Regions from separate parts of the Homo sapiens genome. Here all the other regions are linked to region 2. The links are contacts of gene promoters, found by promoter capture Hi-C in blood cells and fetal thymus (Javierre and others, 2016). All regions are on one chromosome and are shown on one strand. Each heading gives the region's core, a stretch centred on a gene start or on the middle of the fragment in contact. The rest is flanking DNA. Distances are from core to core; before and after follow the strand shown.

Region 1 (3,842 bases), core at 1,313-3,812, 380 kb before region 2:
ACATTTACAATTATTGCTTTATGCAATTTTATTTTAATAAGTTAGCAAAAAAATATAATTATTAAACAAAAATACATTAATATTGTCTTTTATATTTACTCATATAGTTACCTTTACCAATGATCTCTATGTTTTCATGTGGATTCAAGTTACTTCCTAGTTGTCCTTTTATTTCAGTCTGACGGACTCTCTGTAGCATTTATTGTAAGACAAATCTGCTAATAACAAATTCTTTTAATTTATATTTAACTTGGATTGTTAATTCTGGTAATAGGATTGCTAGATCAAATGGCAGGTCTACTTTAGTTCTTCGAGAAATCTCTGTACTATTCTCCATAGGGTTTTTATTAATTTACATTTTCACAAGGAGTGTATAAGTGTTTCCTTTGTAGCATATCTATGTCAACATCCAGAGTTTTCCAGTTTTGTAATTACAGCCATTCTTGCAGGAGTTAGATTGTATCTCATTGTGATTGTAATTTGCATTTCCCTGATTATTAGTGATATTGAGCATTTTTCATGTTTGTTGGCCATTTGTATATCTTCTTTTGAGAAGTGTCTATTTATACAATTTGCTCACTTTTTGATGGAATTATTTGTTTTCTTGCTGATTTGTTTGAGTTCTTTATAAACTCTGGATATTAGTCTTTTGTTAGATGCTTAGTTTGCAAATATTTTCTCCAATTCTGTGGGTTATCTGTTTACTCTGATTATGTCTTTTGGTGTGCAGAAGCTTTTTCATTTAATTAGGTCCCATTTATTTATTTTTGTTTTGTTACCTTTTCTTTTGGAGTATTAATCATAAGCTCTTTGCCTAACCCAATGTTCAGAAGAGTTTTTCTTTAGGTTTTCTTCTAGAATTTTTATGGTATCAAGCCTCAGATTTAAGTCTTTAATCCATCTTGAGTTGATTTTTGTATATAGTGAGGCATAGGGATACAGTTTCTTTCTTCTACATGTGGCTGTCCAGTTTTTCCAGCACCATTTATTGAATTATTTCCCCAATCTACGTACATTTTGTCAAAGATCAGTTGGTTATAAGTATTTGGCTTAATTTCTGGGTTATCTATCTATCCTGTTCCATTGGCTTACGTATTTAATTTTATACCAGTACCATGCTGTTTTGTTTATGATAGCCTTGTAGTATAATTTGAAGTCAGGTAATGTGATGCCTCCAGATTTGTTCTTTTTACTTAGGATTGCTTTGGCTATTCAGGCTCTTTTTTTGGTTCCATATGAATTTTAGAATTGTTTTCTGTAGTTCTGTGAAAAATGATGTTGATATTTTCATGGGAATTGCATTGAATCAGTAGATTGCTTTGGGCAGTGTGGTCATTTTCATGATATTGATGATCATATTATTATAGAAATTATTAAGAAATTATTTCAGGCAGATAGGATAAGTGGTCCTTGGTAAGGTTTTTTTCTTTAAATAAAAGCAGCTCCAGAAACATTTCTTTTTTAGCAAAAAAATGGCTTGAAGGGCCAAGCCAGCAAGCTTTGATATGCAAATGCTGGCTATTAGAAGCTGGGTCCATCCAATATGGCAAGTCCCACCTTCTTCTCCTTGTCACCACATGTGCCAAGCATCATGGCACCCCCAGAGGTCTCCACTGTGCAGAAAATCATGGCGGCCTGCATTTGCATATTAAAAGACTAGGGTGGGAGAGCCAGTTTTTTTGCAGGCTATGTGAATGACATACTAAGTCAAACCAATCCCCTGGGCCTATAAAAATCAGACACCACCTCCTCCAGCCTTCTAATATAACAGATTGTTTCCACCATACTTGGGGTTTCCTCTCTCTGCTTGGAGCCACCCCCACCCCTCACCGACCCCCCGTCTCTGTAGCTGGGAGCTTCTTCTTTCTTTCTTGCCTATTAAACTCTCTGTTCCTTAAAACCACTCCATGTGTGTCCATGTTGTCTTATCTAAATTGGCGTGAGACAAAGGACTCTGGTGTTCCTCCATTCATTGAAGCTGTATCAATATTTTGTATCATTTCAATGAACTACTATAGGCAGCCCATCCCTTAAGTTTCCCTCTTAAGTTTTTTGGTCAGCTTTTCCTTTGCCCCAGCTGTTATTCCATATTAAGCAGCTGCAATGTACAGCAATAGGTGCTGATTGTTTTTGTCAAATACCCCTAGGGAAAAAGTCATTTGCACTGAGCGAGCTCTGTTTGAGATCAACTAAAGTCGTAGGTGGGAATTTCCAAGATCATGTTTGATAGTTTGAATAATGACAGTACTCTAAGAATAATTTTTGGGACTTCTAAACCCTTTATGGCCCCTCTGAGACCTGTTGGGCTACAGTTCACTACTGCTACTATAGTTGTAAGACCTACTATAGTTTTTCAAGGCTACTGTGAAGCTGAGGAATACGGAATAGGAATAGAGCAAGTTAAATCTCCACAAAGGTCACTGTTTTCAATTAAATTCACCTATTTTCTTGAGTAAATGCTTGCCAGATTTTTGCAAGTCTTTGGTTAATTCACAGTATTCTGAGGAAGTTTGTTTTGACAGTTTTTGTCAATGTTCTTGTTGATTTTATGAAGGAATAGCTTTTTGTAGGTCTTTATTCCACTGTTTCTGCTCATGTCTGGCAAGACAATTAAGCAGGTAATTATGAGGGCATGTAGAACACATCTTGGAGAATTTATTCTCAAGGTGGCATTCTATAAAATTATGTAAATATTTAATCTGAGAAGTGAAAGATGAGACAGTTTTCCAGGTGAATAAGGCAGAGGAAAAACAACAACAACAACAACTTTGTAGACAAGGGTAAAATGTACAAGTCTTAGAGATGGGAGAAAGAATGGTCCACTACAGTGAGACTGAAGAATGGAACAAGAGACAAAGCCAGATTACAGGGTGAAATCAATGCTGTTAAATAGTCTGGAATTATTCTAAGTGCAGAAAGAAAGTAATAAATTCTTATAAATTTGGGACAAATTGCAATTAGATATTAATTTTTGGAAGTTAACAGGTGCAATTTTTGGAAGTTACTCAGTCTAACAGGTGCAAGATGAACTGGAATAAAGGGATACCATAGAGAGATGACTGCCTTTAAGACCAATGCAGTGGAAGTAGAGATGATGGAAAGTTGTTGAATTAAAGACATTACTAGTCATTACAGTCTATGATTTATTAGGTAGGGTCATTTAATCAGAAAAAAATGCAGACAGAGAGTCAAGGATGGCCTTCATGCTTTGATTCCTAAAACTGTGGGCAGTATTCTTTCAAATGAGTCAGAAATTAGGGGGTAAAATTAGATTTAGAAAAGAATCAAAATGATCACTTTTGTTTCTGGAATATGTGGGAGATTGAGTTGGATATTTTAATGGACTTTTGGATATATGCTGCTAGCCCTAAGCAAAGGAGTCTGATCAGGAAAATTTATCTATCTATCTATCTATCTATCTATCTATCTATCTATCTATCCATCTATCTATCTATCTATCTGCATATATGTGTGTATATATGTATATATATGTGTGTGTGTGTGTGTATATATATATATATGTCTTCCTTATCTTTTGATTTAAAAACTGGTTTTCCATTTACAATGGGTGCAATGGTGTGTCTCCACTTTGGACTGAAGCCTCATTGTCTCAGCACCTGGGAGTCAGAAGCTTTCAACTGAATCTTCCTTGTATGGCTCTCAGCTAAACAGAAGTGCCTTCTCAAAGTCACACTTTCTCCCAGTGCCAGATGTATCAAACGGCTGGTTCGTGTGGGAGTATAAAAGCTTGGACTTGTTGCCTTATATCAAGATAAACTTGAAAGGGCACTCACCTCCAGAGCTCCCTATACTGTTAGCTGAAGCCTTTGTGTTACTGCATC
Region 2 (3,409 bases), core at 25-2,524:
GTTCCCTTTTTCTATAGATTCTCTTTGTCCTGTGTCCTTGGTAGGCAGAGACCATTAATCCAACTGCTGCCCCTACTAGTGATTTTCCAATCATAAACCAATCCGATTCTTTGCAGTAGGTACCGATCTAACCAAGATTCTGAAAGAAAAATCAATCTCATGATTATTGTAAAATTCAGACCCTCAATATTTACTACACAAATAATGAATGAGTAAAGAAACGAATGACTATTGTTCACTTCTGGTTTTACCTATAAATATCAGCAGTTTTTATAGCAATTTAGTTCATTGGCTCAAATGTTAAATCACTCCATGCTCACACTTATGTTCTCTATTGAGAGAAATTTCTGTTTTGTTTTTGGAAATGTAATTTGGAATTTCTTTATCCAAATTTCTGACAATACTTGTCTCTCTTTCTCTCCTTATATTCTGTTCATTTTCCTCAGAACAGATATAGAATAAAAGGCAATTTACCCAGATTGTCTGTGGAATTGGGATTATGAATTAATTTATAGCTATGCAATTTAATTACTGTATGGGTCAAACAGAACTTACAATTTTTCAAAGCAGTAGTACACAACAAAATGTAACTTATGCTAAACTATACTGAATATCATTTACTTTGCCTGCATAATTCATGAGGTACTTCAGGTTTTTGTAGTGCCTGAAGGACTCTTACAGAAATTATCGTTATATACACCAGATAAATTTGGTTCCCGAGCCCTCCGATGTATAGAATTCTGGATAAATGGGAGTTTGTGGTACAGTCCTAGCTCTACCACTTATTAGCTCCGTGAAACTGGATGATGTTGTTAGTCCTCCTGATGCCCAGTTAGCTCTCTGTAAAAGGGAGATAGTAATAGTACCAATCTCAAAATGTTATTGCGAAGATTCTGAGAAATAATACTCTGAAAGTGAATAACATATAGAATAACCTGTAGTAAATACTCAGTATAAATTGTTATAAATAAGTTGTCATCATCATCATCATTATAGCCTTCTTGTTTTTCTTTTAAGTAAATGGTATTAATTCTATTTTCCCATACTTGGGTGTTTAGCTTTCTAATCCCATTCTTCGGTGAATTTACATTTTGGGGCTAACACTGGGATTCTTTCCCTGTACACATTTTCCCATCCCTAGTACCTTTAGCTTTTTTTCCATTTGACTTCTCATCAGGCTGGTCCTTCACAGTCTGGATCTTTAGGTCATCAAAAGTCATTTCCAAATTCAAGCTAAGAATGAGAGAGTGAAGCAGTCACGAACTTCAACAAACTAAAAATATGTGAGCTTCTGCAGAAGTATTTAAATAGCTACTGTTATCTAATAGAAGAATGACTCAATCATTGGTAGGAGGAAGGAGAGGCTTTGCTTCATATTGGGAAGTTCGCTGACGCAAATTCTTGAGTTATGTGTATTGCAGGTGGAGAAAGTGGTGATTCTGAAGGTGTTTCAGGATATTTCGCTAAGTAATTTATGAAAGGGAAAACTATTTTTCATGAGCATCAGAGGAGAGATATTGTACCCACTCTTCAGAGACAGAAACTGAAATTCAAAGAGAGTAAGTCACACTACATTTGTAAAAAATGTGCCAGAATTATGGGCCAAAATATTTGATTCCAATGTTTGTTTGCTAATTTCATTAGCAGACTGTTTCTATATGGTGTCTTTTACGAATCAGATATATTCTCTTTTGATTTTCACTGTTTTATCTGGCAATGGATCTAAGAATTTTGGGGTGAATCACATATGGCTCCCATTTCCAGCGATGGTGTGTCCTGGGTGATTTTAGAATTTATCTGGGGCTACTAGTTCATGCAGTGCCAGTGTAACGTAGCAGCAGAGAGCACTTTGAATGCAGAAAGAGCTAGTTTCAGTACTTTCCTTTAGTCTACAATCTTGGGAAATCTTAATACTTTGAATCTATGTCTTTGTCTGGAAATTAGGGATAATGTCTACCTGATAACATTGTTATAGGAATTCAAATGACATGTCTGGAAATTAGGGATAATGTCTACCTGATAACATTGTTATAGGAATTCAAATGACATGCTGGGTAAAAATAATAAGCTTTTTTACACTAGGTTTGTGAAAAATGTCACGTTGCTATAGGAATTCAAATGACACGCTGGTTAAAAATGACAAGCTTTGTACTTGGAGCATAATAAGAAGCCAATAAATAATAATTATTAGTATAGTACTAATATTCAGCACAGTTGAATTACCCATCAAATAATGTATTTCAGTAAAATCCATGATTGACTCATGTCACAAAGACGCTTACATGAGAGACCCATAAGTATGTCTATATGTATTTACTGATAGAATACTTTTCTATTTTCCCTTGACAACCTCCTAACCAGATATATATCTATTAGAGATGTCTTCTGAAGGAAGTATTTATAAGCAAAATGATATGATATCTGGCATTTACTTTAAATTACTCCAGGAAAAAAAAGTGCAAAGAAAAGAATACACAAAGGAAGAATGGAAAAATAAATACATAAATAAAACATATAGGAAACTATTAGGAAAAATTACCAATATTGACAGCCTAATTAGGATTCCATTTCCCTCCTCCTCCCTGTTTCCTATATTCCTTTTATTATGTGCAGAGTATTTGAGAACAAATTGAAAAAGTTGGCCAGGTGCAGTGGCTCATGCCTGTAATCTCAGCACTTTGGGAAGCTGAGGGGGGGGGTGGATCACTGAGGTCAGGAGTTCGAGACCAGCCTGGCCAACCTGTTGAAACCCTGTCACCACTAAAAATACAAAAGTTAGCTGGGCCTGGTTGCAAGCCTATAATCCCAGCTATTTGGGAGGTGGAAAATGAAAATGCTTTTCATTTTCAGTGAGCTGAGATTGTGCCACTGTACTCCAGCCTGGGCAACAGAGCGAGACTCCCTTTAAAAAAAAAAAAAAAAAAGAATTAAAAAATACTGAAACGATATCACACTGAAAAGGGCACATTATCATTTCTACAGTGACTCAGTTATTTTGGATGCCATGAATATTATAGAACATAAAGTGTTTACCATTTCAACCATTTTTAGGTGTACTGTTCAGTGGCATTAAGTACATTTACATTGTTGTGCAGCCATCACCACCATCCATCTCCAGAACTTTTCATCTTCCCCAACTGAAACTCTATACCCACCAAGCAATAACTCCTGTGATGGTGAATTTCATGTGTTTTGTTTGTTTGTTTGTTTGTTTGTTTTTGAGATGGAGTTTCACCCTTGTTACCCAGGGTGGATTGCAATGGCATGATCTCGGCTCACTGCAACCTCCGCCTCCTGGGTTCAAGCAATTCTCCTGCCTCAGCCTCCTGAGTAGCTGGGATTACAGGTGCCCGCCACCCCTCCCGGCTAATTGTTTTGTATTTTCAGTAGAGACAGGGTTTCACCATGT
Region 3 (3,341 bases), core at 426-2,925, 470 kb before region 2:
GCCCTCATAGACACATCCAGAGATAATGCTTTCCCTGCTGAGTATACCTTATCTCAATCAAGTTGACATATAAAATTAGCCATCACACTTCACTTGACAGTTTTAAAATTAGGTTGTTTTTTCCAAATGACAAAAAGCAGGAGCAAACTGCAAGTGCTCCTGCAACACATCTAACAAGAAAGCCTTATCTGACTTTTATGAGGTTCGGTATAATGCCCAAACTGCATATTTCAAACTCTTGCCATCAGATTCACCTAAGAAGACAAAAGATCTATTGCCTTTGAACCTACATTCCCAAAGCGTGCAACATGAACTTGCCTACATCCAAGGGGTAGGACCTTCTTACGTAGTGAATTCCCAAAGTGTTGCTGAAATTATGAACAGTGCTCTGCCTCATACTGACAAGTGAAACCTCTATCTCTGATTGCCCAAAAATGTCTAATGAAGCTATAGCATCACTACAATTTGGAATAGACACTTAATCCAGAATTGAAGAGATATAGATAAAAATGAACTGAGTGCAATGCCAAGAGATAGGATAAATATGGCCCCCTCCAAAAAAAGATCCTAAGTCCATGACAGTGGTGCTAGAGATTTCTCACAAAACTCCAAGGAGTAAAACAAGAAACTATAAAGACAGATGGAGAACCACATGTTATGGTACATCATATAAACAACGAAGAGATGGTAGTCAATTGTGTAAGAATCTCGAAGTTGTTGGGTTCAAATAAAGAGAATTATGAAATGAAATAAGTATCCAATTAACACAGGAAATAATATGAACAATGGGGTTAGGAGAACAGAGATCAATGTAAGAGATGTTTCCAAAAGTAATGATGTTGTCATGGAAGTTGGCAGATGATCAAATTATCAGGTATGTAAAACTGATCATGAAGGTGTTCCAAGGAAATTACTCTAATTGTTTCATCAATATTGAACCCAAAATTAAATCAACCCAAACATAGAAAAGGAAAAAAAAAAAGGCAAAAGGCACAGTGTAATGATGCTCTCTTTACTCCTTTGGAAGGGATTGATAAAATTGCAACTACTTCTTGTATAAAGAATCATCCATTTTATAGATGACTACAAATTCAATCCTAAACCTTCAAATACAATGAAAAGAAAGTATGTACTGAGAGCTGGAATGACTACTCACCTAGGCCAAAGTCTCACCTAGGAATGAAGCATCAGGCACACAGTGCACTGAGCATGGCTGAAGGTGCATTGACTAATCTTCTAAAACCTACTCCAGAATGAGAGAGACTGGTACAACTCCATTTGTGCTAAATTTGGAGATATAAACAATATTTTGGAGTTAAAACCTAGAAGTTTTCAAATCTACATAAAAAATCAATTTCTTTTTTTTCTTGCAAAAGCAGAAAAGATGAGAGGACATTGGCACCTGCCAAGAGTGTTGATGAAATGGGGTACTTCCCTGGCCTCTTTGCAGGAGTTGCAAAGGGGTTGGCTTGTTTACTCAGCCCACAGCTCTCAACCCCTCATGGGAGGGGAAACTCACAGGTGAGTGGGTGTAGGGATCAGGATGAGGGCTTCTGTGTGCCAGCAGGAGTAGAACTCTGTGCTGCCCCATGGCAACATCTAGGGGAGTTCCCATGACCCCTCAAGCCCCAGAGGGTGAGTGTTACAGTGTGCTCTTTTAGCTTTTCTATCCACAGATGACAAGTATTTAACAGCTCAGTGGAGGGTCAGGGTGACAGCCTTTTGGACCTGCCTTCTTGGTACCTCAGTTCTTGTTTAGCGTCCAGGAAGAATCAGGTCATGCAAACAAATTGAAGGGTAGTGAATGTGGAGGATTTTATTGAGGGATGGAAGTGGCTCTCAGCGGGATAGGGAGCTGGAAAGTGGATGGAATGGGAAGGTGGTATTCCCCTGGAGTTCAGACAAACTCTTCTCCGAGGTCCCACCATCAAGCTGTCCCTCTGAGCTCAAACTGCTTCTCTCTGACATCCGGCTGCTTCTTCTTTTCTTTCTTTCTCTGTCACTCTGCTATTCCGCTGCTCTGCTGCTCTGCCACTCTGGTGATGGGGCCTGTGGTTTTTATGGGTAGAGGATGGGGTGTGGGGTGGGCCAAAAAGCAACATGTGAGTGGGAAAGCAGGAAATGCATGTTCTCATTTTGGTCTGTGATCCCAGGCTTGAGGATGTGTGGCTCTTGCTTGGGACAGCCCTCTTCTGCCCAGTATTTCCCTGCTTCCCACCCATATCACCAACACTGCTCCTAACCCTACTCAAAAGGTACATTAAAATATAGAGGTGGAAAGTTATATGCTGCTTCTCTCAGAGCAAACCCTTTCTCTCTTATGTAAAATAACTAACTTTCCTCCACAGCATAATTTAAAAAGAAAACTAATGATGACATTAGTCAGAAATCTGTAGACATCTCTACTCCTCTAGTAACTCTGAAAACTGGGTCTGCTAATGAGTTGGTAGCATTAAATCTGAAGACTGAAAGTTTTCTATTCTGTTCCTTCTCTTTTTACCCTTACTTTAGTGGAACAGTAAATTTCAGTAAAATCAGTGAAGGTGTATCTGCCAAGGTTCCAATCAACACAGAGGAAGAGAAGACTTGTTCTATAACTAAACTAGTAGACAACCCAGAAAAATTATCTCTACTTATAATAAACAGAAATCCTAATTACTGCATCCAACTACCTGACCATCATTCATTTTTAAGAGACAGAATTTTTAACGTTCCAAAGTTCTCACCCAAAAGAGATCTGACAGTTTCTGACTGCAATCCATTCTGGAGAAGTTGCTACTAAATTGAATAGAGTAAAGTTATTGTTCCTTTAAATACAATATCTATGAATGGACAATCAAGATTTATGTCCCTTAAGGCATAAGACAGCTGTTAAATGTTGTTCCTCCATTGTACTAATCAACTTCATACTACTGGAGGATATTTGTAAAAAATATTTATATATACACACATACACACACACTCTTAAAATAATTTGTGCTAGGTTATTTATTTATTTATTTATTTATTTATTTATTTATTGAGACAAGGTCTCACTCTGTTGCTCAGGCTGGAGTGCAGTGGCATGATCATAGCTCACTGCAGCCTCAGCTTCCCAAACTCTGGCGATCCTCTCACATCAGCCTCCCAAGCAGCTGGGACCACAGGCATGTGCCATTATACCTGACTAATTTTTGAATTTTTTGTAGAGACAGAGTTACACCGTGTTGCCAAGGCTGGTCTCAAAATTTTGGGGTCAAACAATCTACCTGCCTTGGTCTTTCAAAGTGCTTGGATTATAGTTGTGAGCCACTGAGCTCAGCCTGTCCTAGGTCTTTTAATGTCAAAAGAACACTTGCCCG
Region 4 (3,553 bases), core at 913-3,412, 420 kb before region 2:
GAGATCCAAAATTATAGAAAAACATAAAGAAAATAAATACTTCCTATATTCCTCCTCCTCAGGGAAAACCACTGTGTTTACTTTAGTAGTTTTACTTTCTGTCAGCATATAGAAATATAAAACATGTTTTGTATATTTAATATTGAACAGGAAATAATCCTATTGTATATATTATTTTAAACTAGCAGCAATAATAGTTTGAGTATTCTTTCATATACATAAATGTTCTTCATTATTTTTTAATGTTGGGATAGCATTTCATCATGTAGGAGCATTATATTTATTTAACTAAATCTTTGGTTTTGGACAATTAGGTAGCTTCTGATTTTTCACTACTAGAAATATCCCTTTGATAAACATTTTTGTGGTTATGTCTTGCACATCCAAGATTATTTCTTTAAAATCTCCCTCCCTCCCCAGTAAGTATTGTCAAGCTGCTTTCCAAAGGGTAAAGGAAACCAGTTTACACCATCACCAGCAGTCGTTCTGGTCATATATTTCCCAATATTTTTCCCTGAAAAATCATTTACATTTTAATTTCAGTTATAATACATTTTCATGTGCAAAATCTAATCAAATTATGAAAATTGACAGCAAGCTTAAAAATATCATTTCTATATTAGTATCATACAATTTTTAAGTAGTTGAATACTGACTATAGCACCTAACAGTTCAATGGCATTTTAGCCTTTTTAAAAAGTTTTATCCAATCCCTACAATTATGTGAAATGTGCAGCTGATGTATTCCCCTTTCCAGAGGAAGAAATTGAAATTATGTTGAAAAAGCAACGCAAAACACGGATAACTGATAGTTTTATTTTACACATATTTATGTAACTATCCAAGATGAATGTAGCCTACAGAGTTAAAATTTTGATAATTAGCTAAAGGTTTGAATACAGGAGTATATCTTTAATATGCTTCCATAGCACCCTACGTTTTTCCTATTATAACATTCATCACACCATGTCAATTCATCTTGTTGTTTGTTTTACAAATAGACCACGAATTCCACAAGGCCAGTTGCCATGCGGAATTTGCTGAGTATTTTAACTCTGGTGTCCACCATAGTAGTAGGTGCTTACTTATAACTTGTGAAATGAAATTTTTAAAAGGCTTTCCAAAAACAAATACAAATAAGATATATTACGTAGAAATAGACATGTCGTGTAGAAACGCGGCTTTATGCCAATACTGGAAGTTTGAAGACATAGTGTTTCTAGTTCTAATAATCATCATGAGTATTTAATACATGCCTATGGTGTACTAGGGAGCCAGATAATGTTTTAAGTTTGTTTTCATGTACTAACTAATTTAACATCTAACTAATTTTAGCTGAATTTTGAACGAGTTCTGATAAAATAGCTAGTCAGCCCGCGCGTGGCAGAGATGAAACTCGGGCGGTCTGGCCCCCGTGCTTTGGGTCTCAGCAGCTCCACGCTCCACATAGATGTTTTGTAGGATCCTTAAAACAGAAGTGCAGTAATCTCGTATAACCACTAGATGGCACTGCAACTTTTGTAACAGGGGACTTAGCCGGGGGCAGGAGGGGTTCTTGAGACAAACCCATTTTTTATATTTGTCATTGGTCACTTGCAAGTAGAGTCATACTTTAAATAATAACATTATTCCCTTTAAGAATTGTATATTTTTTATCTATTTAAAGAAAACAGTTGTCCTTATGAATAAAATGACTTCAAATTATGTGTAAAAAATAACTCTGTTATCCGTGTTTTGCGTCGCTTTTTCAACATAATTTCAACTTCTTCCTCTGGAAAGGGAAATACATCAGCTGCTCATTTCACATAATTATAGGGATTCAATAAAATTATTTGTAAAAATGATAAAATTCATTGAATTGTTAGGTGATACAGTCAGTATTCAATGACTTAAAAATTGTGTCATACTAATATAGAAATATTTTTAAGCTTGCTCTCAATTTTCATAATTTGATTAGATTTATGCACATAAAAATATGTTATAACTAAAATATTAATCGCAAGACATTGTTTTCTAAGATGACTCGGGAGTAGATTGTTGGTAATGATAGAATATTACCGCTAGGAGGCTGCTTGTTTCTTTTTTCCCACAGCTGTGGGAACTCAGGAGCACAGAGGTCATTATTTTTCACTAAGCAGTGTCTGAAATCCACATTTCTGTTTGCCGTTTGCCAATAGTTTAGAGATACCATACACATCATACATTTCCAACAAGCAGAGAAGAATATTGCAAATTACATTTATAAAACAATTTTGAAGGTAATCAAATGTATTAGGCTATTCTTGCATTGCTATAAAAATATCTGAGACTGGGTAATTTATAAAGAAAAAAGGCTTAATTGGCTTACGGTTCTGCAGTTTTTACAAGCATAATGCTGACACTGCTCAGCTTCCGCGGAAGCTTAGGGAGCTTTTATGTATGTTGGAAGGTGAAGTGGAGTGGGAGCAGGCATGTCACATGGAGAAAGCAGGAAAGAGAGAGAGAAAGAGAGAGAGAGAGAGAGAAAGTGCTGCACACTTTGAAAAGACCAGATCTCCTGAGAACTCACTCAGGTGCAAGGAGACCATCAAGAGGATGATGCTAAACCATTCATGAGAGATTCGCTCCCATGATGTAATCACCTCCCACCAGGCCCCACCTCCAACAAAGGGGATTACAATGCGACATGAGATTTGGGCAGGGACACACATCCAAACTACATCATTGAGTTTTTTGCTGATTGAAATATCCCATGAAGATTATGCCTCTTTTCTATATATTGAATTATTTTACATAAATAACTAAAGTGTATGTAGCACCTCAGAATTGAACAAGATACTTTCAGAGCATTGACTATGAGGAGTAATTATTACAGAGCATCTGCTATATACAGAAAAATGGATATGGATACATACACCCTTTAGCATATAAGCATATGAAAACAATTTGATATGTATAAGCTATTATAAAACTAAGGGTTTTACTCTACATGGGATTTTTTCCTAAGTTATAGTAACTGTTTTCTGCTTTCTCATATAGTATATACTTTTTAATGTATTTTGAAGGAATGAACTTTCTTGGAAACCATTGTGTTTATTCTACTTTTATTTCACATATATAAAAACAGCTTATAATTGTACTGAACACAAAATACAAACAAATACATTTTATTGCACATAAAAATATTTTAAATGAAGTATTGAAGTATTGCACGTAATAGAATTGATTTAGGAAAGTCACAAACCTATTATAAGACTAGTATTATTCTAGGTCTGAAGATTACAGAATATTTCCTAATAGAGATTTGCCACATCACATATTGCACATTTTCCAACACTATTCTATGTCTTGCAAATATTCCTCATAGTCTTTGCTTATGTCTTTTCTCTGTAAGACACTGTATAAAAGATTATAAAGGCAAAGAAATATGTACCATCGAAAAGGACCTGTCTACAGCTGAGGAAGTAAAAAAATAAATACATGATCATCCCATTCTTTTTGGGGAAAAATAACAAAGTAAATTGGCAAATTTCTCTAAAAAGAGAGAAATATTACAAATCTTAGTTTCATAAGC
Region 5 (3,673 bases), core at 689-3,188, 340 kb before region 2:
CAAAATATAAAAAACCCTGGAAGATAACCTAGGAATTACCATCCTGGACACAGGAATGGGCAAATATTTCATGACAAAGATGCCAAAAGCAATTGCAACAAAAGTGAAACAAAACAAAACAAACAAACAAAATAATTAACTGTAAGAGCTTCTGCACAGCAAGAGAAACTATCAACAGAGTGAACAGATAATCTACAGAATGGGAGAAAATTTTTGCAGACTATGCATTTGACAAAGGTCTAATATCCAGCATCTGTAAGAAACTTAAACCAATCAACAAGCAAAAAATAAACAACCCCATTAAAAAGTGGACTAAGGACATGAACAGATACTTTTCGTGTTTTATTTATCAATCTTAATTTACTTCTTATCCATTTGGAGTGTCAAATAATGGCCAAAGAAATTGTAATTATAAATTAAAGAACAAAATTTAGCAAGTAAAAATAAACAAAAATAACACAAAAATGTATTATCCTTTTACTTTTGTCATTAAGCAACAAATATATTTCTGATAATTTGTCAAATATTTTCTCCTTGAATTAATAGTTTATCTTATTTAAAAGGGTATATTGTGTTTTTAAAATTTTATTTTAAATTTGGGAGTACATGTGCAAATTTGTTACATAGGTAAACTTGTGTAATGGGGGTTTGCTGTAAAGATTATTTCTTCACCCAGGTATTAACCCTAGTACCCATTAGTTATTTTTCCTGATCCTTTCCCTCTTCCCACCCTCTATCCTCCAGTAGGCACTAATCATTAGGGAAATGCAAATTAAAACCACAGTAAGATACCATCTCATACCAGTCGAATGGCTATTATTAAAAAGTCAAAAAATAACAGATGCTGATGAGGTAGTGGAGAAAAGGGTTCACTTATACACCTTTGATGGGAGTGTAAATTAGTTCAACCATTATGAAAGATAGCATGGTGATTCCTTAAAGACCTAAAACCAGAAATTTGACCCAGCAATCCCATTACTGGTATATACCCAAAGGAATATAAATCTATCATAAAGACACATGCATGCATCTGTTCATGGCAGCACTGTTGACAATAGCAAAGACATGCAATCAACCTAAATGCCCATCAATGGTAGACTGGATAAAGAAAATGTGATACACATATACAAAGGAATACTATGCAGCTATAAAAAAGAATGAGATGATGTCCATTGCAGGAACATAGATGAAGCTAGAGGCCGTTACCCTTAACAAACTAATGGAGGAACAGAAAACCAAATACCACATGTTCTCACTAATAATTGGGATCTAAATGATGAGAACACATGTACACATAGAGGAGAATGACAGACACCGGAGCCTACTTGAAGGTGGAGGGTGAGAGGAGGGGCAGGATCAGAAAAACATAACTATGTAGTACTAGTCTGAATACCTGGGTGATGAAATAATATGTACAACAAACCCCTGTGACATGATTTTACCTATATAACAAACCTACACATGTAGCCCTGAACCTAAAAGTTAAAAAAAATCAAATTATACTGTTAAATTATTAGCATGATTTATAAACAATATTGTTTTAGGATAAAGAATTTAATTGCTTGGCAATTGCAAATTATTAAATTAAATATCAATATGTTAGGGAGGCTAATTCAAATGATATAAATATTTAGGCTATAACAAAAGGCAGCTATATATTATTAACCTCACCTCAAAAAGGGGCATAATTTCCATTCCCTTGACTTTAAGGGTAAATTAAGAGAAATTTGTAAAGCACTCAAAAGAATATTCAATTCAATATGTGGTGGACAGTTGAGAAATTATGTGTTATCTATGTCATGGGAAAGCAACTTTTAAAAAGAAAACATTTCCTCTGAGGTTTTCACAAATAAGTGAAACTGTGAACCCTCATATGTACTGTGAAAGGACAATTTGAGGAGCATCTCTGATTAGCAGCAGATTTATTATTCTTTCCTCATTTCATGTTATACTTAATAAAACAAAACATACCTGTATACACACACATTCACTCACATTGAAGATGCAAGATGAAGAAAGATACATGACATTGAATGTACAGTCAAAGAAAAGGAGTTCTGCCCAAACATCTCAACTTACATTTAAAGGTATGGAATTTAATTTCATTTTTTCAATTGGTGTGAATTAACATGGTAGTTTCCCGTATCCTGTTCCATTGTGTTATTGGACTGTTTCAGTATTTGGGTGCTTTTCTTTCTCCGTCTCTGTATCTCTCTCACCTGTCCTCTCTTTCAATATTAATAATGATTTAAAAATAACAACCTCTCTTACCATTTAAGAAACACCAGTTTCCGGCACTATACAGAATGTTTTATCTATGTTCCTTCATTTAATCTTACAAATTTACTATGAGATAATCTCTCTCTCTCCCATTTATCAATGTGGAACTAACACTTACTTGTAATATTTTGTCTGATATAATTTCTTAAGGACATTCTCTGAGGAAATATGCATACTCAATTAAAATTAATAATTTCAAATTAGTGAATATTTGCTGCCATTCACCTCCTTATCATTCATAGAATATGGTGTTTTAATGCTATTTTTTTTTTTTGAGACGGAGTTTCACTGTTGTTGCCCAGGCTGGAGTGCAATGGCATGATCTCGGCTCACTGCAACCTCTGCCTCCCAGGTTCAAGCAATTCTCCTGCCTCAGCCTCCTGAGTAGCTGAGATTATAGGTGCCCGCCACCATGCCTGGCTAATTTTTTGCGTTTTTAGTAGAGATGGGGTTTTACCATGTTGGCCAGGCTGGTCTTGAACTCCTGACCTCAGGTGATCCACCCACCTGAGTCTTCCAAAGTGTTGGGATTATAGGCATGAGCCACCGCGCCCAGCCTTTAATACTAATTTTTAATTCAACTTCTCAAAAACTTTATGCTTTTCACCAAGTTGACTCAAAATAAAGTTTATACACCAGCAATCAACATTTTAATTTGCTACTTCAAGCATACCCTCCATACACAATGCAATTCCATCATGCCACCTTAATGTGATTTGGCAAAAGAGATAAGCAGAAATTAAAGACACAAATAATCACAGTTATAGAGACTGTCTGTTCTGTTCTGTTGCTTTCTAAATATTTCTCTTTTAATAACTTCACCCATGAAAATTTTACTTATCTCTTGAGTCCTTCCACAAGTATCATCCATCAGTGATTCATCTTAGAGTTACATACGTGCTATGTATAAGAAATTTATTGCCTCTTCCATGTGAATTTTTAGATTCCCATATTTTCAAGTCTTTACTTCCTACACTCAATTTTTATTTCATTTTTGGAAATTAGAGATATTAAACCTGAAAGACTACAACATGTAGTGACTTCTCTGCAGACTTTTTTCCACACTCTGTTCATAAATGTCTCTCTGAAGCAAAAATGTGCAGATTTTCGGCTCCCAGATATTTAAGTGACACATACTAATATTTATGTCTTGTACCTTTAGCTAATATTTATTAAAGCTTGAGGTAAGACGTATTTTATGTGAATTAGATTGACAATGTGAGCCTTGGGGTTATGATGTTCATTCATTTAACTTAATTTTGTGATGACATATTTGTAAATCTTTTCTCATATATTGAAAAACCTTTGTTGCCAGTGATAGTAAGAAATTACATAATTGCTCTATCCCACTATACATATGTAGTAGTTTCAGAATCACTATAGAAATAATATT
Region 6 (3,313 bases), core at 571-3,070, 480 kb after region 2:
TGGAACCTTCACTTCCCAACCCTTTCCCAGAAAACTCATGAATAATCTACCCCTTGTTTAGCATATAATCAAGAAATAACTAAGTATACTCAGTCAAGTAGCCCACACTGCTGCTCTGCCTGTGGAGTAGCCATTCCTTTTTTCCTTTACTTTCTTAGTAAATGTGCTTTCACTTTACTCTATGGAGTCACCCTGAATTATTTCTTTAGCAATATCCAAGAACCCTCTCTTGGGGTCTGGATTGGGACCCCTTTCCAATAACATCTTCCTGGAAACCATGAAGGGACTATACTGAGGAGAATCCTATGGACCCAAAGGAAATAGACCACAGCACTGCCAATTGGCAGACTTTAGGTAAGGGGCGGGGTATGTTTTGCCCAGGTAAAGGATCAGATTGGGTTAGAGGTCCAACTTAGGAGAGTCTCTCCTAAGACAGAGAGGGTTAAGGCCCCTCCTAATAAAAGGCAAGGATGCTTAATGAAACTTGAGTTTGAGGCCCAATTTAGAAAGGTTAGAGTCCTTCCTAAGATTTAGGGATTAGAGGCCCCTCTCAGTAAAGTCCTTCTTGGTTAAAAGTGGATTTGACACTATGGGATGTTAACTGCTATTCTCTTTGGATTAATCTGCCTTGCACTCTTTGCTGACAGATATGGATGACAGGAATAGGCATGTACAGGATCACCAGACACGGGGAGCTTTTTTCTCCCCAAAGTGGGAAACTTGAGAGCTGACTGGACTGCTAGAAAAGATCCTTCACTACCTAGTCTCTCTGAGCTCCTTGCCTTCCCCACCCCACTGTAGGCAACACTTTTATCCCTTCCCTTTCCTCCCTCTCTGTACAAACCAGTTGTAGGAATGGTAGAAATCACTCTCTTGCAACGTTTTAATTAATGAATAAAAGGATTCATGAGGCTAGTCTTAATGCTGTAGTGAATCTGGTGTATTTTGTGCTTTGAATTTGTCTTTCTGTGTTATTCTGTCATAAAGGGGAGGTACCTTGGGATAGAACACAGGCTTGGGACTCCATAAGCTAGATAGGGTTTCTCTCTCATCTTGTTTTATATCCTTGGGAGCTTGACCTTGTAACCATGTGGCAGTACTTTCTCTTAGTTTCTGCCATCCAGAGGACAGCAATTTTGGAGTTTATGACAAAGTTAGCTCTAAAAATTGTTTTGAGCAGTTAAAAGCCTTCATTGGCTCAAAATTGTCTGCTCCAGGCTCTTTCTGAGAAGGCAATGGAAACTTCCCAATGCTGTAGCTTAGTAGCTAAGGCTTTGCCTTTTCACAATGGCATCCCTGGTTCAGCGTTCAATTTCTGGTTTAGGGAATGAGTACTTTCAGGTTGATATTGGTGTGATCTTTGCCATTTGTTGATTTTATCCCCTCCCCCCATGAACAACTTCTATCTTCCCTTCTTGAATCTTCCTTTCTCTGAGGCACCTTGTAGACTCTAAATCTTGTAAAAACTGCTAATCATCTCTTTTAAAATACTGGTACACTTGTGATTAAGTCATAACCTTAGTGAAAGCTTACTGGTTTCATCTGGGAGGTTACCTTTGGTAAAGCTTAAAAGCCAGAAAAATGGATTGTGTGGCCTGGCTGAAGTCAGGTAATAAGAGATTTAAAAGCATTTTTGAAGTGCTATGGTTAAAAGTCAGCTTTAATTAAAAGAAGATATATGAGCTATACGTATATTTAAAAGGTTTTTATGTTTTTTCTCTTCTTGGATCTTATTTCTCTGAGGAAAAAGTTTTTTTCTTCTCAGTTGACTAAATTGTTGATAGGGTTTGGCTATGTCCCCACCCAAATCTCATCTTGTAGCTCCCATAATTCCCATGTGTTGTGGAAGGGACACAGTGGGAAATAACTGAATTATGGGGGCAGATCTTCACCATGCTGTTCTTGTGATACTGAATAAGTCTCGTGAGACCTGATAGTTTTAAAAGTGGGAGTTTCCCTGCACAAGCTCTCTCTCTTTGCCTGTCGCCCACAGGCAAAAGACATGGCTTTCTCCTCCTTTTTGCCTCCCACAATGATTGTGAGGCCTCCCCAGCCACGTGGAATTGTAAGTCCATTAAAGCTTTTCTTTTGTAAATTGTCCAGTCTCAGGTATGTCTTTATCAGCAGCATGAAAATGGATGAATACAGGGCTGAGTGCGGTGGCTCACACCTGTAATCCCAGCACTTTGGGAGGCTGAGGCAGGTGGATCACGAGGTCAGGAGATAGAGACCATCCTGGCTAATATGGTGAAACCCTGTCTCCACTAAAATACAAAAAATTAGCTGGGCATGGTGGTGGGCACCTGTAGTCCCAGCTACTTGGGAGGCTGAGGCAGGAGAATGGCATGAACCTGGGAGGCGGAGCTTGCAGTGAGCCGAGATCACGTCACTGCACTCCAGCCTGGGCGATAGAGTGAGACTCCATCTCAAAAAAAACAAAAAACAAAAAACAAAAAAACAAGGGATTAATACAATTGTTTTTCTCCGTTTTATCTTCTTGCCACTCTTGATACACATGAGGGGATCTAAGATAATTTCTAACAGCTTGAGACTCCTTGGGAAAAACAGAGGAGTTGCCACAGATCCTGTTTTGGAAAAAAGCCTCTGTTTTCCTTATGAAACCACTAGAATTGAAAGGGGATAAATAAATCCCTCTCAAAATCTAATGCTTTGTTTCATTTTGTATTGTGTTATCTGACAGTTTTGACTTTTGTGGGTATCAGAAATTACTTCTTATTATGAGAGAGCTTTGGTTTGTAATAACTAGGTAGGAAACATACTTTTAGGGATGGCTAATGGAAGTTATGGGGGATACTTAACTCTTTGCATGTTTGGATCAGAGAAGCATACTCTTGACCACCTGGAAGATACTGGAAGTGTCCCCATTGCCACACTGAGAGATAAGAGTTCCATAGGAGGTGGGCTGATTTCCTCTTTTTTGGGATCCAAGATCTGGTATAAAAATGGGACCCTTAAATTTTTGAAATCTGTTTTGCCTTCCAGCTGTGCCTGCCTATTAGGCTCTAGAAATTGCATGCTTTCCTGGCCCTGTTCCTCAAAGGGCTCCTCCCTGAAGCCAGTAATTCAATTAAGAAACTTAAAAATTGGCAAATGAAAAATCTTACAACTACTGGATCTTCTGTCTGTTGTGTAGTCATATGTGTTGTATGTGTAACATTTATATATGAAAGAGCTCTGATTAATTGGTTTAAAAATAATAAGCACTTAAATATTTTGTCAGAAAAATAAAAACTGTAATGCTTTTTAGTTCATGTGACTTTAGGAAGCTTTGGGAAATAAAGACAGTTTTAAA
Region 7 (3,558 bases), core at 392-2,891, 360 kb before region 2:
GTAAGCAGGCAAGTCATGCTAGAATGACCTCGTATTCTTGGTGTTAAAAGACTTATCACATTAATGGTTTTGGAAAACAATGAATGTATCATGTATATGATTTTCACTGAGATGTATGCCACAGAATGCTATAATATCTACATGAAAGCAGTGCTACCTCAGGTTAGGTGCCATTAGTTAGGAGAGAGATCATTTTCTATATGCCAGAATGTTTTGCATTTCATTCTCTCTTACTCCACATTTTATAAATGCTTAGGTTAATATATTCAATGTATAGATGACATACAACTTGGATATCTAATACACTGAGTAATAGAATCATAAACTCCAAACATTCTGCATTTCGGAGAAAATTGAGAGTTTAGCGAGATGAATTTTTTAAGTGTATTAAAATCTAAACTGAAGAAGTTAACAAGATGGGAAGAATTGCCTTTATTTGTAGATGTATGCAAGAGCACTAGGGGAAATTCAATGACCAACAAGCTCAAAATAAGATTGTGTGAAGTAATGAATTTTAGGTAAAATCAATACAAATATATCTAAAAAGAAAGGGTGGGACTTTTTTCCTCCATTCCTGGCCCAATTCTTTGAAATAATTTTTATGTGATTGTTTCAAACCATCTTAACTTTCTCTTAGTTTTCCTCTGCATACATGCACATATGTAAATGCCTACTTTTAAGAGTACAGATGAGAAAAAACAGGGATTTGAATTAGTTGAAACCGTAACTTAAGTATTATTTCCAGGAACTAAAGCTACTTAGCCAGAATCAGGAAAAGGGCTGCTGGGAATAAGTTTGTTAACGTAAATTGTTCCAACAGCTGTCATATTGATGTTACGCTTAGTTTACTGGCTCCAGAAGGCAGAATTGATACCAATTCTTGAAAGAAGCATCCATATACCCCAGTTAATTTTGATTATGTCATGAGATTTTGTGTAGTATTCAAAGATAAATTGTTATTATTGTTGGAAAAAGCGGGTTACTTAGATTTAAACTTAGGTTAAGAAAATTGATTTAAAAAAATAAGTTCCACTTTCAAAAGTTGTTATTCTATTGATAAATCTGTTTTTTTTAATGCTGCTTTATTTGATGTAAAACTACTGTTTTGAAAATATTGACTGTGCCTATGGATTAATGTATCAAACAAAATCACCCCATGAATAAATCAAATATTTATTTATTTACCTGAAGTATACAAAAGGAGAATGACATAAAGATCAATTAGCAAGGTTGATAAATCTGCAAGAAACAAGCTTCTCAGTCCTAAATTTCATCATTAAATCACTGAAACTCAGAGTTGTGAATGACAACATCTGAATAGTGAGTGTCAACATAGATTTTCTACAAGCTTGAGGGTTTTTATCTAGGAACAATTCTGTTTGTAGGTCATCCTGGATATATTCAAGGGACCATTATTTTTGGTATTATACAATATAACTTGATGTTCTCATAGTCAAATGTGAATGCATTTCTCATACTTTATCTGAATCCTCCCAAATTAACAATGTGGTCCAAGTATATTCCCAAAATTAGAGTTTCTGAGCCTGAACGGAAGTTAAGCTCCCAGAAATCGCAGGTAGCTGTGTTAATAAGTGGTTAGAATAACTAGGGCTTATCTTTTGTGTGTCCTTTGATAAATTTAAACAAATTAAATTCCTCTCCAAGATAGGTCTGATTCACAAACTTAATGACTATATGCTTAAATTTTCACCTATAGTTTAATGAAATGTTTGTTTTTAAAAGATGTTTGAAGTCTAAAATAGACTCCCCAAACAGTGTCTGACATGTAATAAGTCCTCAGAAAATAATTCATAAATATTGAATGACTAGTAGGATATTAAAATGTGGTCATTCCTGCTGTTTACTTTTATCTGAGGGCACAAATGTCAAGAACAATTCTATAGGTGCTAGACCTCCTATATAGGACATGCTAACAAGCTTGCAAAAGTGTTTATTTCAAATTTCGATCTATCATCTACTTTCAGAGCACATTAAGAGTTTATGAGTGTTCAGAGATTAGGAAGTGAGAATTTTTTTTATGAAGTGACTTGCCAGTGTACTTCCCATTTCCCAATATCTTTCTGTGTCAATAAGCAAAAGAACTTCTCTTTTACCTTAAGCCAAGTTTGGATTCTGTCATATATTGGCAAGTGTCCTCTGGGAGTTGGAGGTTGCAGAGGTGAACACTTTCAGTATGTGAGTTTGTTAGAACTACACATAACCACAGAGTAAAAGCAGATGTGTAGATTAAGCCACACTTCCAGCAATGGTGAGGCTGAAGGGAGTGTTTCCTGTGGGCCGGATGAAGATCTCATACAAAGCAGCCATTTGGGAACCATCCTAAAATAAAATTCACCTAAGACTGCTTCTTACCACAGGCAAGTCAGCCTCAATGAAAAGAAGCTGGAAGTATAGAGTAGAAAGCAAAAAAAAAAAAGGTACCTGGGGAGTTGTGAGGGGTGAGGTACAGTGATTTGCAAGCAGGATTGCCAAAGGAGACATCACACATCAGACAACTGCAGAGTACCCCAGGAGCAGAATTTCTGAAAAACCCATAGAAGTAGTCCAAAAAAAAAAAAAAAAAGAGAGAAAACATTTGGAGTGTCAGCATACAGATTAAAACTGTCCAGGCTGGTAACATCTTTATTCCGTGTTTATTTCTATTCCCTTTGTTTCACCTTCACTCATTCTGGGGATCAGGGTTGGGGAATGGAAAGAGATACTAGAGAGGGAAGAAGCTCATGCAGAGCCCGTTATACTCACTTGCCCCCTTAATGGTCCCAAACTAAGCAGATCCAATCCAAGCTGAGAGAGAGGAAAAGTGTTAAATTAGATAAAAGTTGGACTTAAGATATTAGGCGGAATTGGATCTTTTATTATCTTCATTATCAAAAGACCATGAGATCCACAAAGGAAGGAAAGGAGAAGACTTTATTTTCAGAGGGAAAAATAACCCTAGAATTAGGGAAATGCAGCTTTCGGGAAAATCCGAAAGTTCACTCTCTGAAGAAGTGAGAGGGGGCTGGTATACATGTCTTATACAGTCAGTTTTACATACATACTGAGCAGGGTTGGGAAAATTCTGTGAATACTTATGAATATTCATGAAGGAAGTCAAGCACTAGTGCATTGGGTAAGCAGATGTAACATGCACCCCACGGTCACTTTGGGATGGTGTTTTAACATTAAATCGGGTGGAATTTGGCTCTTTACCTCAAAAGGTGAACTATAGCGTACAAAAATAGTTTGTACATAATCTCCACAAGCTGTCTGTAACTGGTTTAAGGTCTGTGGCCATTCATCAATAAAGAATGTTTATAAGATTGGGTCTGGCCGGGCGCGGTGGCTCACGCCTGTAATCCCAGCACGTTGGGAGGCCGAGGCGGGCGGATCATGAGGTCAGGAGATCACGACAATCCTGGCTAACATGGTGAAACCCCGTCTCTACTAAAAATACATAAAATTAGCCAGACGTGGTGGCGGGCGCCTGTAGTCCCAGCTACTCGGGAGGCTGAGGCAGGAGAATGGTGTGAATCCGGGAGTCAGAGCTTGCAGTGA

The links. The method cuts DNA at HindIII sites, captures the fragments that hold promoters and counts their contacts. A CHiCAGO score of 5 or more calls a contact.
Region 1: a fragment that was not itself captured here is called in contact with the fragment with the promoter of OLR1 in region 2 in 2 of 17 cell types (monocytes and neutrophils); the score reaches 5.5 in monocytes.
Region 3: a contact is called between a fragment that was not itself captured here and the fragment with the promoter of OLR1 in region 2, in 1 of 17 cell types (neutrophils). The highest score is 5.7, in neutrophils.
Region 4: a contact is called between a fragment that was not itself captured here and the fragment with the promoter of OLR1 in region 2, in 3 of 17 cell types (monocytes, neutrophils and M1 macrophages). The highest score is 7.9, in monocytes.
Region 5: a contact is called between the fragment with the promoter of KLRF1 here and the fragment with the promoter of OLR1 in region 2, in 2 of 17 cell types (activated CD4 T cells and neutrophils). The highest score is 7.4, in activated CD4 T cells.
Region 6: a contact is called between a fragment that was not itself captured here and the fragment with the promoter of OLR1 in region 2, in 1 of 17 cell types (naive CD8 T cells). The highest score is 5.0, in naive CD8 T cells.
Region 7: a fragment that was not itself captured here is called in contact with the fragment with the promoter of OLR1 in region 2 in 1 of 17 cell types (naive B cells); the score reaches 5.5 in naive B cells.

Annotation. Positions count from the first base shown.
Region 1 is chr12:9,788,934-9,792,775 of GRCh38, forward strand. No RefSeq gene overlaps it. Among named protein-coding and RNA genes, the nearest start is that of CD69, 30 kb to the left of the region's middle. The HindIII fragment of the contact is 2,133 bases long and covers 1,497-3,629 here.
Region 2 is chr12:10,170,858-10,174,266 of GRCh38, forward strand. It overlaps OLR1 (oxidized low density lipoprotein receptor 1), which reads right to left and starts at 1,275. Exons shown (of 6, transcript NM_002543.4): 1 at 1,145-1,275. The coding sequence starts at 1,220. It also overlaps a transcript of TMEM52B not described here. The HindIII fragment of the contact is 3,279 bases long and covers 1-2,066 here.
Region 3 is chr12:9,700,392-9,703,732 of GRCh38, forward strand. It overlaps LINC02390 (long intergenic non-protein coding RNA 2390), which reads left to right and starts at 2,993. Exons shown (of 2, transcript XR_931347.3): 1 at 2,993-3,341. It also overlaps a transcript of CLECL1 not described here. RefSeq lists an enhancer at 1,781-1,830. The HindIII fragment of the contact is 3,890 bases long and covers 1-3,341 here.
Region 4 is chr12:9,749,420-9,752,972 of GRCh38, forward strand. CD69 (CD69 molecule) reads right to left here. Exons shown (of 5, transcript NM_001781.2): 5 at 3,067-3,553. Among named protein-coding and RNA genes, the nearest start is that of CD69, 9.7 kb to the right of the region's middle. RefSeq lists an enhancer at 1,294-1,588 and a silencer at 2,049-2,128. The HindIII fragment of the contact is 472 bases long and covers 1,927-2,398 here.
Region 5 is chr12:9,825,543-9,829,215 of GRCh38, forward strand. KLRF1 (killer cell lectin like receptor F1) reads left to right here and starts at 1,939. Exons shown (of 6, transcript NM_016523.3): 1 at 1,939-2,087. The coding sequence starts at 2,003. The HindIII fragment of the contact is 7,114 bases long and covers 1-3,456 here.
Region 6 is chr12:10,654,197-10,657,509 of GRCh38, forward strand. All of the region lies in intron 1 of STYK1 (serine/threonine/tyrosine kinase 1), which reads right to left. Among named protein-coding and RNA genes, the nearest start is that of STYK1, 18 kb to the right of the region's middle. The HindIII fragment of the contact is 515 bases long and covers 1,564-2,078 here.
Region 7 is chr12:9,808,753-9,812,310 of GRCh38, forward strand. It overlaps a transcript of KLRF1 not described here. Among named protein-coding and RNA genes, the nearest start is that of KLRF1, 17 kb to the right of the region's middle. The HindIII fragment of the contact is 590 bases long and covers 1,347-1,936 here.